Regions from separate parts of the Homo sapiens genome. Here regions 2 and 3 are each linked to region 1. Evidence: promoter capture Hi-C in human tissues and cell types (Jung and others, 2019). All regions are on one chromosome and are shown on one strand. Each heading gives the region's core, a stretch centred on a gene start or on the middle of the fragment in contact. The rest is flanking DNA. Distances are from core to core; before and after follow the strand shown. Region 1 holds the start of DEAF1 (DEAF1 transcription factor). Region 2 overlaps SIRT3 (sirtuin 3). Region 3 overlaps PSMD13 (proteasome 26S subunit, non-ATPase 13).

Evidence for each region. Contacts are between HindIII fragments. The study calls those that stand out against the background at their distance.
Region 2: a contact is called between a fragment that was not itself captured here and the fragment with the promoter of DEAF1 in region 1, in 1 of the 25 tissues and cell types used here (lymphoblastoid cells).
Region 3: a contact is called between a fragment that was not itself captured here and the fragment with the promoter of DEAF1 in region 1, in 1 of the 25 tissues and cell types used here (hippocampus).

The regions. Positions count from the first base shown.
Region 1 is chr11:692,738-697,332 of GRCh38, reverse strand. It overlaps DEAF1 (DEAF1 transcription factor), which reads left to right and starts at 2,111. Exons shown (of 12, transcript NM_021008.4): 1 at 2,111-2,574. The coding sequence starts at 2,286. TMEM80 (transmembrane protein 80) reads right to left here and starts at 1,517. Exons shown (of 5, transcript NM_001042463.3): 1 at 1,487-1,517. The coding sequence starts at 1,505. RefSeq lists enhancers at 1-512, 1,053-1,592, 1,593-2,134, 2,135-2,674 and silencers at 1,120-1,539, 2,040-2,339, 2,350-2,469, 2,490-2,739. The HindIII fragment of the contact is 41,051 bases long and covers 1-4,595 here.
Region 2 is chr11:222,862-227,456 of GRCh38, reverse strand. It overlaps SIRT3 (sirtuin 3), which reads left to right. Exons shown (of 7, transcript NM_012239.6): 5 at 3,218-3,379. Among named protein-coding and RNA genes, the nearest start is that of SIRT3, 11 kb to the left of the region's middle. The HindIII fragment of the contact is 4,124 bases long and covers 369-4,492 here.
Region 3 is chr11:247,419-252,013 of GRCh38, reverse strand. It overlaps PSMD13 (proteasome 26S subunit, non-ATPase 13), which reads right to left. Exons shown (of 13, transcript NM_002817.4): 7 at 4,566-4,595; 8 at 3,159-3,238; 9 at 2,957-3,082; 10 at 1,149-1,211; 11 at 388-468; 12 at 78-194. Among named protein-coding and RNA genes, the nearest start is that of PSMD13, 13 kb to the right of the region's middle. The HindIII fragment of the contact is 4,260 bases long and covers 1,216-4,595 here.

The DNA of each region.
Region 1 (4,595 bases), core at 862-3,361:
AAGAGAACAAGTGTTTTCCCTGATGTAATGGACAAGATGTGTTAAGAAATCTTGTTTTGGTATACACTTAGTTTTTTTAGAGACAGGGTTTTGCTCTGTTGCCCAGGCTGGAGTGCAGTGGCCTGATCACAGCTCACTGCAGTCTCAACCTCCTGGGCTCCAGTGATCCGCCAGCCTCAGCCTCCCACGTAGCTGGGACCACAGGCTCCCTGAGGTAATTTTTTTTTTTTTTGAGACAGAATTTCGCTCTTGTTGCCCAGGCTGCAGTGCAATGGTGCGATCTTGGCCAACTGCAACCTCCGCACCCCACCCCCCCCACCACCACCACCGGGTTCGAGCAATTCTCCTGCCTCAGACTCTCAAGTAGCTGGGATTACAGGCATGCACCATCACGCCAGGCTAATTTTGTATTTTTAGTAGAGACGGGGTTTCTCCATGTTGGTCAGGCTGGTCTTGAACCCTCGACCTCAGGTGATCCGCCCGCTTTGGCCTCCCAAAGTGCTGGGATTACAGGCGTGAGCTACTGCGCCTGGCCTTCCCCGGGGTAATTTTTAATTTTTTTTTTGTAGAAGGGGGTCTCGCTCTGTCGCCCAGGCTGGAGTGCAGTGGCGCCATCACGGCTCACTGCAACCTCGACCTCCTGGGCTCAAGTGATCCGCCAGCCTCAGCCTCCAGAATAGCTTGGCCCACAGGGGTGCGCCACCGCCTGGCTGATGTTTACAGTTTTTTTTTTATAGAGGGGGTCTTGCTATGTTGCCCAGGCTGGCCTCAAATGATCCTGCAGCCTCGGCTTCCCAAACTGTCAGGCTTACAGGCCTGAGCCACTGCGCCCAACCTAAACTTAATTTTTAACCAAATGAAAATACACAAAACAAACCTGGTTACTAGAGGCTGTCCTGCCTATGGAGTAGCCATTCTTTATTCCTTCAAAACAATGCACCTAATTACTAGAGAACACGCACGAAGGTTTGGCACTTCAGCGCCCGCGTATGGGAGTTCTGGCTGTACCCACAGACAGCAGAAGGCGGCTCCTCTGCAGGATGGCCGATTTACTGCTTTGGTCTGTCCCTTCCTCCTCTCGGAGGCGAGTCTCTCAGGCAGGACGGCTGAGGCACCGGCGCCCGCGATTTTCTTTGGCGAGAGTTCCAAGGCTACCGAAACCCTGCGCCCATCCCGCCCACGTGTCTTCACAAAAACCACGCGCGGGACAAGAGCTGCCGGGGACTGGGGCCCCCAGAGCCGCTCCGCACCCACCCTGCCCGGGGCCAGGCGCCCGCGCGCGGGGGAGCTCTTCGGGGTGCAGGACGCCCGCCACCCAGGCCAGGCCAGGCCGCGCTTCTCGATGGGGTGACGGAGCTGTCTCGCTCACGTAGAGACGGTGGCACGGCCCCGTGAGCGCACCGAAAGCGGAAACCGGATTGTCACCACAGGGAAACGCCGCGCCCGCCGCTGCAAGCCCGGAAGCCCCCACCCCGCCCGAGCTCACCTCGCCGCGGGGCCGCCATCTTACCCGCCCCGCCCGCCGGTCCGTCGCGATCCCGGCAGCCTCTCGGCCCGCGCGCTCGCGCTCCTTCGGCCATTTTCGCGTCTCCTGACGAAGGGGCCCGACCGCGCCGCGTTTCGGGAGCGGACGTCCGAGCCACGGCCGAGGCCCGATTAGTCCGTCCGGCACCGCTCGGGCACTTTCGGAAGGGAAGAGGTGGAGAACCGACGTTCGGGAGCATTCGGCCTCGGGGACATTCGGCTCGTCTCGGCTCGGCCTCGGGCTGACTCGGCTTCCGCCGGCGGCGGGAACGGGCGAAACCCGCGGCACTAAGCTCTCTCTGAGAGGCAGAATTGCGCCGGCCGCCGGCGAGAATCTGCCTAGAGCCGTCCAGCCCTGTCGGCCGGGGACGACAGCCGCCTCAGCCTGTCAGGACAGTGAGGAGAGCAGGGGCCGAGTCTCTCGGAAGCCCTCGTGAGGACTCGGACCTATTCGGACTGATTCGGCTTCCCACTTCGGGGAACTTCGACCCTCCTCGGTTCAGGACTCGGTCTCGGCTCGGCGGCTTCGTGCAGGTTCGGCTCCTACTCGGGCAGCCTCTGTTCGCCTCGGCTCCGCTCCGCGGGCGGACTCGGCTCGGCTCTGCTCGGCGGCTGGCTGCCTTTTCGGTCCCTATTCGGGCGGCGGCTTCGGGCGGCCTCGGCCCAGCTCGGGCGTCCTCTTCGGGCCCCGCTTCGGGCTCCGCGACCGGCGCTTCGGGCGGTCCCGGACGGCGCCTTCGGGAAGGCTCGGCGGAGTCCGGATGGAGGACTCGGACTCGGCGGCAAAGCAGCTGGGCCTGGCTGAGGCGGCGGCGGTGGCGGCCGCGGCCGCTGTGGCGGCGGCGGCCGCGGCCGCGGCAGGAGGCGAGGCGGAGGAGCCGGTGCTGAGCAGGGACGAGGACTCGGAGGAGGACGCAGACTCGGAGGCGGAGCGGGAGACGCCGCGGGTCACGGCAGTGGCGGTGATGGCGGCGGAGCCCGGGCACATGGACATGGGCGCCGAGGCCCTGCCCGGCCCCGACGAGGCCGCCGCTGCCGCAGCCTTCGCAGGCAAGTGCGCCCGCCGGCCTCTCGCCTCGTCCGGTTCCCGCGCGCCTACCCCGCGCGCCTGCCCCGCACAACTGTCCCAGGTGACCAGCCCGCCACACCTGTCCCTCACACCTGCTCCACGTGACCAGCCCGCTCCACCCGCCCTGCACACCTGCCCCTCACACCTGCTCCACGTGACCCGCCCGCCCCACCCGCCCTGCACACCTGCCCCACGTGACTAGCTCACCCCTCACATCTGCCTCTCACACCTGCCCCACCCGCCCCTCACACTTTCCCCACGTACCTGCTCCAGGTGACCAGCCTGCCCCACCTGCCACAAATACCTGCCTCGCACACCTGCTCGACGTTTCCAGCCTTCCCCACCTGCCCCACGTGATCGGCCTGCCCTACCTGCCCCGCACACCTGCCCCACATACCTGCCCCAGGTGACCAGCCTGCCCCACCTACCCCAAACACCTGCCCCGCACACCTGCCCCTGGTGACCTGCCTAGCCTCACCTGACCTGGCCCTGCCCTGCACACACCTGCCCCCTGCCCCCCTTTTCTTTGTGGCAGCCCCGCCTCCTACTGGTCCCCCCTGTGCAGCTCTGCCCCTGCCCTGCCTTCGTCCATCCTGGCTCCCCCCACCTGTCCTGGAGAAGCCCTGGGGTGGGTGGGCACCTGTGGTCACCAGGAACCCCCCACTTCCTGAGGGCCAGTTCAGGCATGACCTGAGCGCTGGGGAGCCAGGGGTGGGCAGCCTGCTGGAGGCCATGATGCCAGAGGTCAGCGTGGCTGTGTGGTGGCCCAGGGGGGCTGCGGAGCCACCTGTGCAGGCTCCCCTCCCAGTCCTCCCTCTTCCTCTTGCCTTTTTCCCTAAGGACCTGCTCCTCCTGCCCCGCTTCCTGTCGGGCTTCCTTTGGGGAGGCTGCTGTGGCTTTCCAGTCCACATTTTTATATAAGCTGCTTATAGTTTCTTGCCACACAGGTCAGTCTCCTTCTCAGGCTCCAAAACACTGGGAGCCCGTGGCAGAGCTCACAGATGCCCTACGGGGCTGGTGCCGTCCACCCACCTCCTGTGTCCCGCCCTTGTGTCCGTGGGGCATAGACTTCCCCACCCACTGGCTTCCTAACGCACTGTATTCTTCCCCATTGGAGTTCCCGAGTGTCCCCCAGGGACTCACAGCTCAGTGTTGAGACCCTTGGGAGGAGCTTCTTGTTGCGTTGTGAGGCACTTTTCCCCTACGGAGCTTTGCGGGTTGAGGAACTGGATCCCAGTCCTGGTGTGCTGGGTATGTCAGGGCATTGCGTGTGCTCTGGGTGCTTGTTCGGCCTGGGGGCTGGGTGGGGGCCAGCAGCGTCTGGGCTGCCCTTGGTCAGCTGAGTGGCCCTCGAAGGCAAAGGGGTCACTGCTGCTTGTTTGGTTGGTTAAGAAAAAAAAGTGAGGGAAGGCTTTGTGACTCTCAGGGGTTGGCGTCCGTCGCTAAACTCTGGTTTGACGTTGGGATTTGGAGCCATGAGGTTGATTTCAGGTTTTTGTCATTTTTGCACGTATTTTTCTGAATGCATAAAAGAAAAATGATGCTGTTCATCATGATGTCAGAGAAATGTGCTGACGTGTGTTTTCTTCTGAAAAATATGGTAGTTGTGTTTTGATGTGGTAAAAGCACTTTAATACTTTTTAAAAATTACGAACAGCTGACGTCAAGTGGTTTCCAGGTTTAAGTAACTCAGCAGGACACGCTGCCGCCTGAGGAGGCTTTGGGCGGCTGCTCCCAGGGCTGCCATGGGCCTGGCGTTGAGCACTCACTGTGGCCGCGCGCCGCATGCCGGGGCTTGTGGTGCTGAGAGGCGAGGATGAGGGAACCGTGCACCTGGTGTGGTCTGGTCGTGGAGACAGACAGCAAACATGCCTTTTTTTTTTTTTGAGACGGAGTTTCGCTCTTGTTGCCCAGGCTGGAGTGCAATGGTGTGATCTCAGCTCACCGCAACCTCCCGCCTCCCGGGTTCAAGTGATTCTCCTGCCTCAGCCTCCCGAGTAGC
Region 2 (4,595 bases), core at 1,181-3,680, 470 kb after region 1:
TTGGATTTTTTGTTTTTTTGAGATAGAGTCTTGCTCTGTTGCCCAGGCTGGAGTGCAGTGGTATGATCTCAGCTCATTGCAACCTCCCCCTCTCAGGTTCAAGCGATTCTCTTGCCTCATCCTCCTGAGTAGCTGGGATTGCAGGCATGCGCCACCATGCCCAGCTAATTTTTGTATTTTTAGTAGAGATGGGGTTTCACTATGTTGGTGAGGCTGGTGTCGAACTCCTGACCTCATGATCCACCCGCCTCGGCCTCCCAAAGTGCTGGGATGACAGGCATGAGCCACCGTGTCTGGCCTCTCTGCCTGTTTTTTAAGACTTTTGTCTTTGGAGTTTTGCGGTTTCTCCACTGTGGTTTTCCATATGAATTTTCTTTTATTTCTTCTGCTTAAAATTTGTAGGCCAGTTGGTCATGGTGGCTCACGCCCGTAATCCCAGTACTTTGGGAGGCCGGGTGGGTGGATCGCCTGAGGTCAGGAGTTTGAGACCAGCCTGACCAACATGGAGAAACCCCATATCTACTAAAAATACAAAATTAGCCGGGCGTGATGGTGCATGCCTATAATCTCAGATACTCGGGAGGCTGAGGCAGGCGAATTGCTTGAACCAGGGAGGCGGAGGTTGCGGTGAGCTGAGATTAGGCCATTGCACTCCAGCCTGGGAAACAAGAGCGAAACTCCATCTCAAAAAAAAAAAAATAATAATAATAATTGTAGGCCTTCCTTAAGAAAAATAAAATAAAATTCTAGGCTGGGCGCGGTGGCTCCTGCCTGTAATCCCAGTACTTTGGGAAGCTGAGGCGGGTGGATCACCTGAGTTAGGAGTTTGAGACCAGCCTGGCCAACATGGTGAAACCCCGTCTCTACTAAAAATACAAAGATGAGCCATTTGTGGTGGCACCCATCTGTAATCCCAGCTACTCGGGAGGCTGAGGCAGGAGAATTGCTGGAACCCAGGAGGCAGAAGTTGTAGTGAACCGAGATCATGCCACTGCACTCCAGCCTGGGTGACAGAGCGAGATGCCATCTCAAAAAAATAAAATATAAAATAAAATTCTAAGCCCTGCAACCAACTGAATGGAGCCCTCCCCTTGGTCAAGGGAACCCCAGAGAAACCTTGGAAGCTTGAGTTCCTGGCCGTAGCAGGAGAGGAGGTCAGACGCGCCTCACTGTACCCCTCCCTCCCCAGCCACCATTAGGCTTCTTCACTAAGGGCTAAACAGAAACCAGCCCTTTTCAAAGACTCTACACTGCTAATGTGGATTACTGGTTTATCTTCCCAGATACAGATTAAAGACAAGATGAGATTAATGGTTCCTTCACCCTTCCCTGAGAGGTCTGCTTAGTTCTCTTCCTCTGTTTCCTTCTATCTTAGGTAAAATGTACATTTACTGGGCACTTACTGAAGTCTCACAAGTACGTAACCACTCACCTCACAGCCACCCTCCCTCTTTGAAGGACCACATGTAATTACTAAACCTCCTGAGAACCTCTTGGGACAGAAACAAGCACAGATGTGCCGTGACTCATGTTTTTCCTGTGGGCACCCTCAGGCTGGCTCAGTAGCCCTCACTTGCTTGAGATCCTGAATCTGCGGGTTGGCGTCTTTCATGGTTGCTGGATCATACTCTGCCGTTATCTCTTCGGATATGAGTTGCCCCTAGCCCACTATCTGGCCCCTCTCTTTAGGGACCTCTGATTGAACATACATTAGACCTTCTCTCTCCTGCTGTTCCTGATCACTCTTCTGTCCTGTAATTGCTGCTTCTTGTGCTGCATTCTGGGTAATTTCTTCTGGTCTTTTTTCCAGTTTACTAATATTGTATTCTGTTATAAGGTCCTTCCATTGAGTGTTTCTTTCTTTCTTTTTTCCCAAACAGCAACTCAAAACAGACATTGAGTTTTAATTTTGGTTCCTGTACTTTTTATTTCTAGAAGTTCTATTTGGTTATTTTTCAAGTCTGCTACATTATTACATAATTTTTTAATAATTTTATATCTTTAATAGATAGTTTTTTGTTTTGTTTTGTTTTGTTTTGTTTTTTGAGACAGAGTCTCGCTTTGTTGCCCAGGCTGGAGTGCAGTGGTGCAATCTCAGCTCACAGCAACCTCCGCCTCCCAGGTTCAAGTGATTCCCCTGCCTCAGCCTCCCAAGTAGCTGGGATTACAGGCACGCATCACCACGCCTGGCTAATTTTTTGTGTTTTAGTAGAGACAGGGTTTCACCATGTTGGCCAAGACAGTCTCGATCTCCTGACCTCGTGATCTGCCCACCTCGGCCTCCCGAAGTCCTGGGATTACAGAGCTGAGCCACTGCGCCTGGCCTTTGATAGATATTTCAAGTTCATCTTTTTTTTTTGCTTCCTTAATTTTTTTTTTTGCTATACCCCATGCCTCCAAGATAACAGTTTTTTCTTTTTAATTTAAATATAATACAGTTTTACTGTGTATCCAAGAATATCTGAAATCTTTCGTGGGTCTCTTTCTTTTGTCTTTTGTATCTGTTGCTTTTTGCTGGGCTGAGCCTGCTTAAAACAAGCCCCGTTAGCTGTAAAGGTTTACCTTAGAAAGTCAGGTGTCTTCCTCTGTAACTCTCTCCCTTTTCCATCTGCTCCAAGGCATTTATTTATATTAATCTTGACGCAAAGGGAAGTTGTGTCCACTTCACCTTGGCCAGTAAGGAAGCAGTGTTTGGCAGATGTTGTTACTCCTAATAATGCCAGCCAGTGAGTGAAGCTGACCTGAATGCCTCCCAGGGCTGAGGCAATGGCATGATCACCGAAGCTCAAACCAGAGACAGTTTCACCTTTCTGACTGAATAGTGTTCGGTGTAGGCCAAATGCCTGCAGACTACTGTTTGAGGACTGGTGTGGTCTACCAGGTGTTTCCTTAGCGCCTGGATGTCTCTGGCTGCCATCCCAGGGATAGAGCATGGTGTTAGATACGCTAGATGCCTGCCGAAGTAATTATGGGTGAAACATATGATGTCCAAGATTTGCTTTTAAAGGCTCCAATACCTCCTCCCAGATTCCGGAGGGCTGTGAAACAATTAGCTATGAAAACTGGTAATTCCTGAAGCTGGGTACATGGGGGTTCATGATCCCTCTCTCACCTTTTTTGGGGGAGAATGTTTGAGACTTTAATAAGAACTTGTTGCCTTTTCCTTTTACAGGGTGTTGCAGGCATCTTCCTCAGGCCTGTTTTCTCTGTTTTCCAGGCTGACGTGATGGCAGACAGGGTTCCCCGCTGCCCGGTCTGCACCGGCGTTGTGAAGCCCGACATTGTGTTCTTTGGGGAGCCGCTGCCCCAGAGGTTCTTGCTGCATGTGGTTGATTTCCCCATGGCAGATCTGCTGCTCATCCTTGGGACCTCCCTGGAGGTTTGTCAGCAGGCCTGTGCAGGGAGGAGGCTGGAGGGCAGGGGAAGGGAGGGGTACAGGAGTCATCTCATGGGCTGTCGGCAGGCCTGTGCAGGGAGGAGTCTGGAGGGCAGGGGAAGGGAGGGGTACAGGAGTCACCTCATGGGCTGTCGGCAGGCCTGTGCAGGGAGGAGGCTGGAGGGCAGGGGAAGGGAGGGGTACAGGAGTCATCTCATGGGCTGTCGGCAGGCCTGTGCAGGGAGGAGGCTGGAGGGCAGGGGAAGGGAGGGGTACAGGAGTCATCTCATGGGCCCTTCCAGGGCTGGTGCCACTTTGGGAAGGTGAATGGATTCAGCTGGGGTTCCAGGCTGAGGGAGCAGCAGCCTGTGCAGGAGACAGGAAGGTGGGAAGCTGCTGGGCTTTGGAGGTGGTATAGGTGTGGGTGGGGCACCACGTGTGAGGAGAAGGGAGAAGGATGGGGGTGTGGGGGCGAGGTGGAGGGGCAGGGCCTCCCAGGTCAGATCAGGAATACTGATGCTGCAGTGGGAGGAGTGATAAATCCACAGGGACTGGCCCGGGGACGTAGCTGCACCCTTGGGGTCAGGGAGGCCTTTGGGGAGTGGAGAGTGGAGCAAGCAGTGCCAGGAGGCTGGTCCTGGAGAAGGTGGAGCTGTGGTCGCCTGAGGGATGGCGAGGAGGGGGACTGGACTCGCAGTCTGTGATGTTTTGGGGACGTGAGAAGGAGGCGTCTGGCTTGGTCTGTAAGGTCAGGGCACTTGCTGGTGAGGCGTGATTTGGGAGGGAGGATGCCCAGCTCGGTTCTGTGTGTGTCTGAGGTGTCGGGAAACATGCCCTGGATGTGTTCAAGCAGCTGTTCTGCGTCTGCGTCTGCAGCTCAGGAAATTCCTAAAAGCTGTGATGAGAGCAAGAAATGAGACCATGAAGTCAGTGTGTGCGTGACTGGATGTAGGCACCGAGGACAGAAGGGCCAGAAAGACCTGTGCTCAGAGGGGCCCAGGGCAGCCACAGGGGCCCAGAGCATGTGTTTGTTCAGGCATTCATTGTGTGCTGGGCCCTGCTCCAGTGCTTTGGACATACACGGTCAGATGTCAGTGTAAGAAGTTATATAGTTTGTTAGGAGATGATTGATGTTATGAGAAAGATAACAAGTAGGATAGAAAGGCTAGAAGGGTTGGGAACCAGCTGCAGTGTCAAGTCAGGCAGGTGGAGTTGGATC
Region 3 (4,595 bases), core at 2,096-4,595, 450 kb after region 1:
TCCAAATGAAACTAAGACGGTATAGACACAACCCCTCAAAATCCACAGAGGTGAATAATGGGTTTCAAACACATCACCTGTTGCAAATCCAACACTCGGGGCTGCACCCAGGTCATGTGGACTCGTTTGTCCACCTCGTCTATACTGCCTTTCACCAGCCCCACCGAAAGGGCCTTCATCACCAGAAGCTCCACCTGTGCAGAGAGGGAGGCGTGTGTAAGACAAGATAGCCTGACACACCCCCATGGACCCAGATGGCTTGTGAGAAGCAGATGCCGCTCCTCCCGTCATTTTTTACTGTCTAGGGAGCACAGCGCTCACACAAGAGCCTTGACTCCTCCATGTGGCAGCTTTGCTGCTCTAACACCCTGAGCCTAGGGACCGTACCTCATTCACTGTGATTTTAGCACTTTTGGCAATTTCTTCAAAAGTGAGTTGTCTGTGATTGGCAGGTCGTGTGAAAGTCATCTGGAAAAAATTTTATTAACTATTTTAAACTATTTTTCCAAATAAAAATAGAGAACTGATAAGGATGTTTTGTCAATATTGGCTCTGAAAATAGAGATCTTATTAGTACCCCACATACTAAAAAGTTTCCTAATATTAGACATATATCTTGTTAAGAACAAGCTTTTAATGCTTAGATAAGAAGGATAACAGCAAAATGCCTTACAGGAGTTTCTGACAGTAGCCATTGTTCAATCCCCGAACAAGTACTTGAGGCCACAATTTGCCAGGGTTGACCAGGGGTGACCACGGCAAACCAGAAATCTAAGGGCCACTTCCTGACGAAGCTTAAGTTCTAGTGGGGAAAGACAGATGTGCGTGTACACAAGAAGCGACATGCAATGAGGCAACAACTGCATCACGGGGAGAGGGGCAGCTACTTCATCTCAGTTCAGATGGTCAGGGAAGGCCTCAGGGTGGTGGCAGTGGGGTGGGAGGGTGTCGTCTGAGCTAAGAGCCAAATATAAACTTAGAAGAGCAAGTGGTAGCAAAGGAAAAGGAAGGTGGTGAAGAGAGCGGCGCACAGCAGAAGCAGCACCACTGAAAGCTCACACTGCTCAGCACAGGCTTGGAGAGTGCAGCGCCCCCACCTGACCAAAATCTGAAACCACAGACAAAGTGGCTCCTGGGTGTTCGCTTACCTCCATGAGGCACAACAACTGAATTTTCCTCAGAAGCTGGGCTTCATTAGCTGCTAAATCAGGCTGTAAAGTATAGAAAGACAGAAAAATGTCTTCCATGTTTGTGCTTATCAGTTACTTAACTGGGGATCTGGAATTCGTTCTATAACAGTAGACCCAACAAAAACCAGCTAAGCAGATCCAAACATTTCACATTGCAGACTGCTGAAGCTCATTAACAACAAGTGATCTGAGCTTCATTCTTCTTAGGAAATGGAAAGAGTCGCACCTAACTGGGACACTTTGTCAAGGCAAGGAATTTACAAGGTAAGATTTGTATTAATGCTACAGACACCATTAGGCAGGGCCACAGGGTACGGGCATTTCGAGAAGACTCTCCTGGTCAAGGTGCTGTTGGGAAGGATACACCCTACTGCCCAGGGGGGTTCTTTCAAGGGCTGCTGCCGGCTCAGTGAGCCAGTGCAAGTGGAGCCCCTCTGAGGAAAAGCTTCCTTAAGTTCTAGAGACTTGTTCTGAATCAAAAGAGCAAGTTATTAATTTATAATGAAAAATATCATTGTCCTGAGAACTAGAATATACGCTTCTGCAAGATATGCATCATCTCTTCTTATGGATCAAAACGTTACCTGTGAGCACAGAATTAAACCAAGGAGACTTGTTGTTTTAATTCAAATAGCAACTCATATCCTGACACAGGTAGCCCCGATGGGGACATTTCTGCCACAAGTACTGGACAGGTCAAGCTCTGTAAAGGGCTCACTACCCCTCCAGACAGGCTTTGCTGCCTGAATAGATGCTGCCAACATGCATCTACGATTTTTTTTTTTTCTTTAAATTGCTATAACTAGCCATCTTCCTTTCTGAGTGTCACCTTTTTTTGAGATATCAATAAATAATCAGACCACAGTTAGGTCTGGCTGCATCTGTGCTTTCTGCCTCTTCACAGTGCCTTCATCTATATCTACCCTGCTCCACTATGCATGAATTTTACAAGTTTATTTTAAACTGAGAAAATTGAAAGTTTCAGAAAAATACAAAAATAACCATAATTCCTACCACAGTTAACATTTTATTAATATTTACTTCTAATAATCTCATTAAAAAAGAACATACTTATCATTAAAGCTCAAGCCCTTGTTGAGCACCTTTCCCTAACTCCCACCTTCCAGAGACAACTTCACCCAGTGCCTGCCCTCCCCTTGCACTGAGGTGAATTGGCTGTTCTCCCTGCATGGACCTCTCCCTCTCCCCGCACCCGCCGCTCTCCCCCTCCCCGCACCCGCCGCTCTCCCCCTCCCCGCACCCGCCGCTCTCCCCCTCCCTGCACCCACCGCTCTCCCATTCTCTTCACCAGGCATTTGTTCCTCCTTCATCCCATGCTCTCTCCCACCCACTCATGTTAGCCTCACACATCCCTCTTTCAGTTCAGCAAAGATACTAAACTTTTCCGTTTTCTCCGCTGAGTGCACTCTTCCCGTACCTCTTCACTCATTCCTAAGGTCACACAGACCTTAGGTCACTATGACTTCTACATCTTCTGTGACACCCCCTCCACCCAGCGTAGATGCAGGGCCCACATTCGATTCTGTTTTCTCAGAACACCCTCACTCTTTGTCTGCAGCACTGAGTAATGCTGTAGCTAACCAACCACTTAACTCTCTGCTCTATGAGAGCAAGGACTAGCCTATCTTGGTCTCCTCTTTGCCCTGTTCTTTCCTGTGTGCCTAGGGAAGACGCTCAATGAACATCTGTTGTATGAGCGAGTAGATACATGGGGGAATAAGGGCTGGGCATCGTGGGAGTCCTACCTGCTGGCCCCAGGCAGTCTTCAGAGTCTGGAACCGCTCTACGTTGCCACTGTTGAAGGCATAGAGGGTGTCAATCAGCCACTGCCGGTCAGTATTCCTCAGGGACTCCAGCACAGGGTGCATGAGCTGTGAGGATGGAGATGGTCAGCTAGTAACACTTTAGTCTCTCTCGTTAAGGAAGCTGAGCTCAGGGTCAACTTACGAGTTCTCCAAAGTTAAAAACTCCCTCGCCGAGAAGTCCTGCTAGCCCCAGCGTGAAGGCTCTCTCCTGCTGCTCAGACACTATGGTAGCAACACAGGCCCACTTACAATCCAGTCATAATAATCAGTCCTGTTTAGCTTTAAAAATCTCATATAACAAAAAGTAAAAAAACATTGTTTGTAATGGTTGTTATTACAAAGCCTTGACATTAGTCACCTCTTCTGAAGTATTGGGTTGACTTAGATTATACCAAGAACCATATATACATGGGTTTTTTGGGAGGAGCATTCATTTATTTTTTCCTAAATATATGTGAATCTATTCATATTTTCAGCTGTGCCACTTCCAGGAAGTGCCTTAAATCTCTTTTCTGCTATGGCAAGGAATAAATTTAAGTTACCTAACCTAGCTTCTTTTCAGACCAGAACTAACTTACTTTCTGTTCCTAGACAGCAAGTCTATTGTTCTCTTGACCACCTTAGTTCCTTTTCCGATATATTTTTCTTGACATACAGTAATAAAAACTGCATCAACACTGTTAAGAGTTGCTGGTCTCCTTAGCTTCAACAGTGTTTTGTGAGAAACATCTAAAATATGCTGAAAATTTATTTTCTGAACATATATTCCTTACACTTTTTCCAAAACTCACAGGTCATTTTCTTTCCACTCTCAAATCCTTGAAAGATTTAATAATTTGTCCCCATGGGTCTGGAATTTCAGTTTTCAAAACAAGGGTCTCAGCTACAGGGATTTCACGTGCCCTTTATTCTGCAGCAGAGGGGTGGGCGGGGAGGGCTCAGAAGGTGTTGGCGTCATGGTGCTTCCTACAAATACCTGTGGCTTAGGTAACAGTGAGGGACTGGAGAAGGGACAGTGAAGGAGCGAGGAGGAATTAGCCTCATTTTCATGTAAATTAAATGCTGGAGACAAATATAATGTAGAAACTAAAGGTTACACAAATCTTCCCATTTTTTTCTTCAAAACAGGATGAATCCATCTGAGTAATTTCTTTTTTGTTTGGATGAGATGGAGTCTCGCTCTGTCACCCAGGCTGGGGTGCAGTGGTACAATCTTGGCTCACTGCAACCTCCACCTCCCGAGTTCAAGTGATTCTCCTGCCTCAGACTCCTGAGTAACTGGGATTACAGGCACCCACCATCACACCTGGCTAGTTTTTTGTATTTTTAGTAGAGACAGGGTTTCACCATGTTGGCCAGGCTGGTCTCGAACTCCTGACCTCAGGTGATCCACTCACTTCAGCCTTCCAAAGTGCTGGGATTACAGGCGTGAGCCACCGTGCCCAGCCCCACCTTAGTAATTTCTGAGAACTGTCACCTCAAGCAACTCACAGATGCTAAGTTTGGAGAATATGCTCCTGTGTGACATGGATTTAATGGCCTAGGTTACCTGGTAGATCCTTGATGTCAACACAGCCCA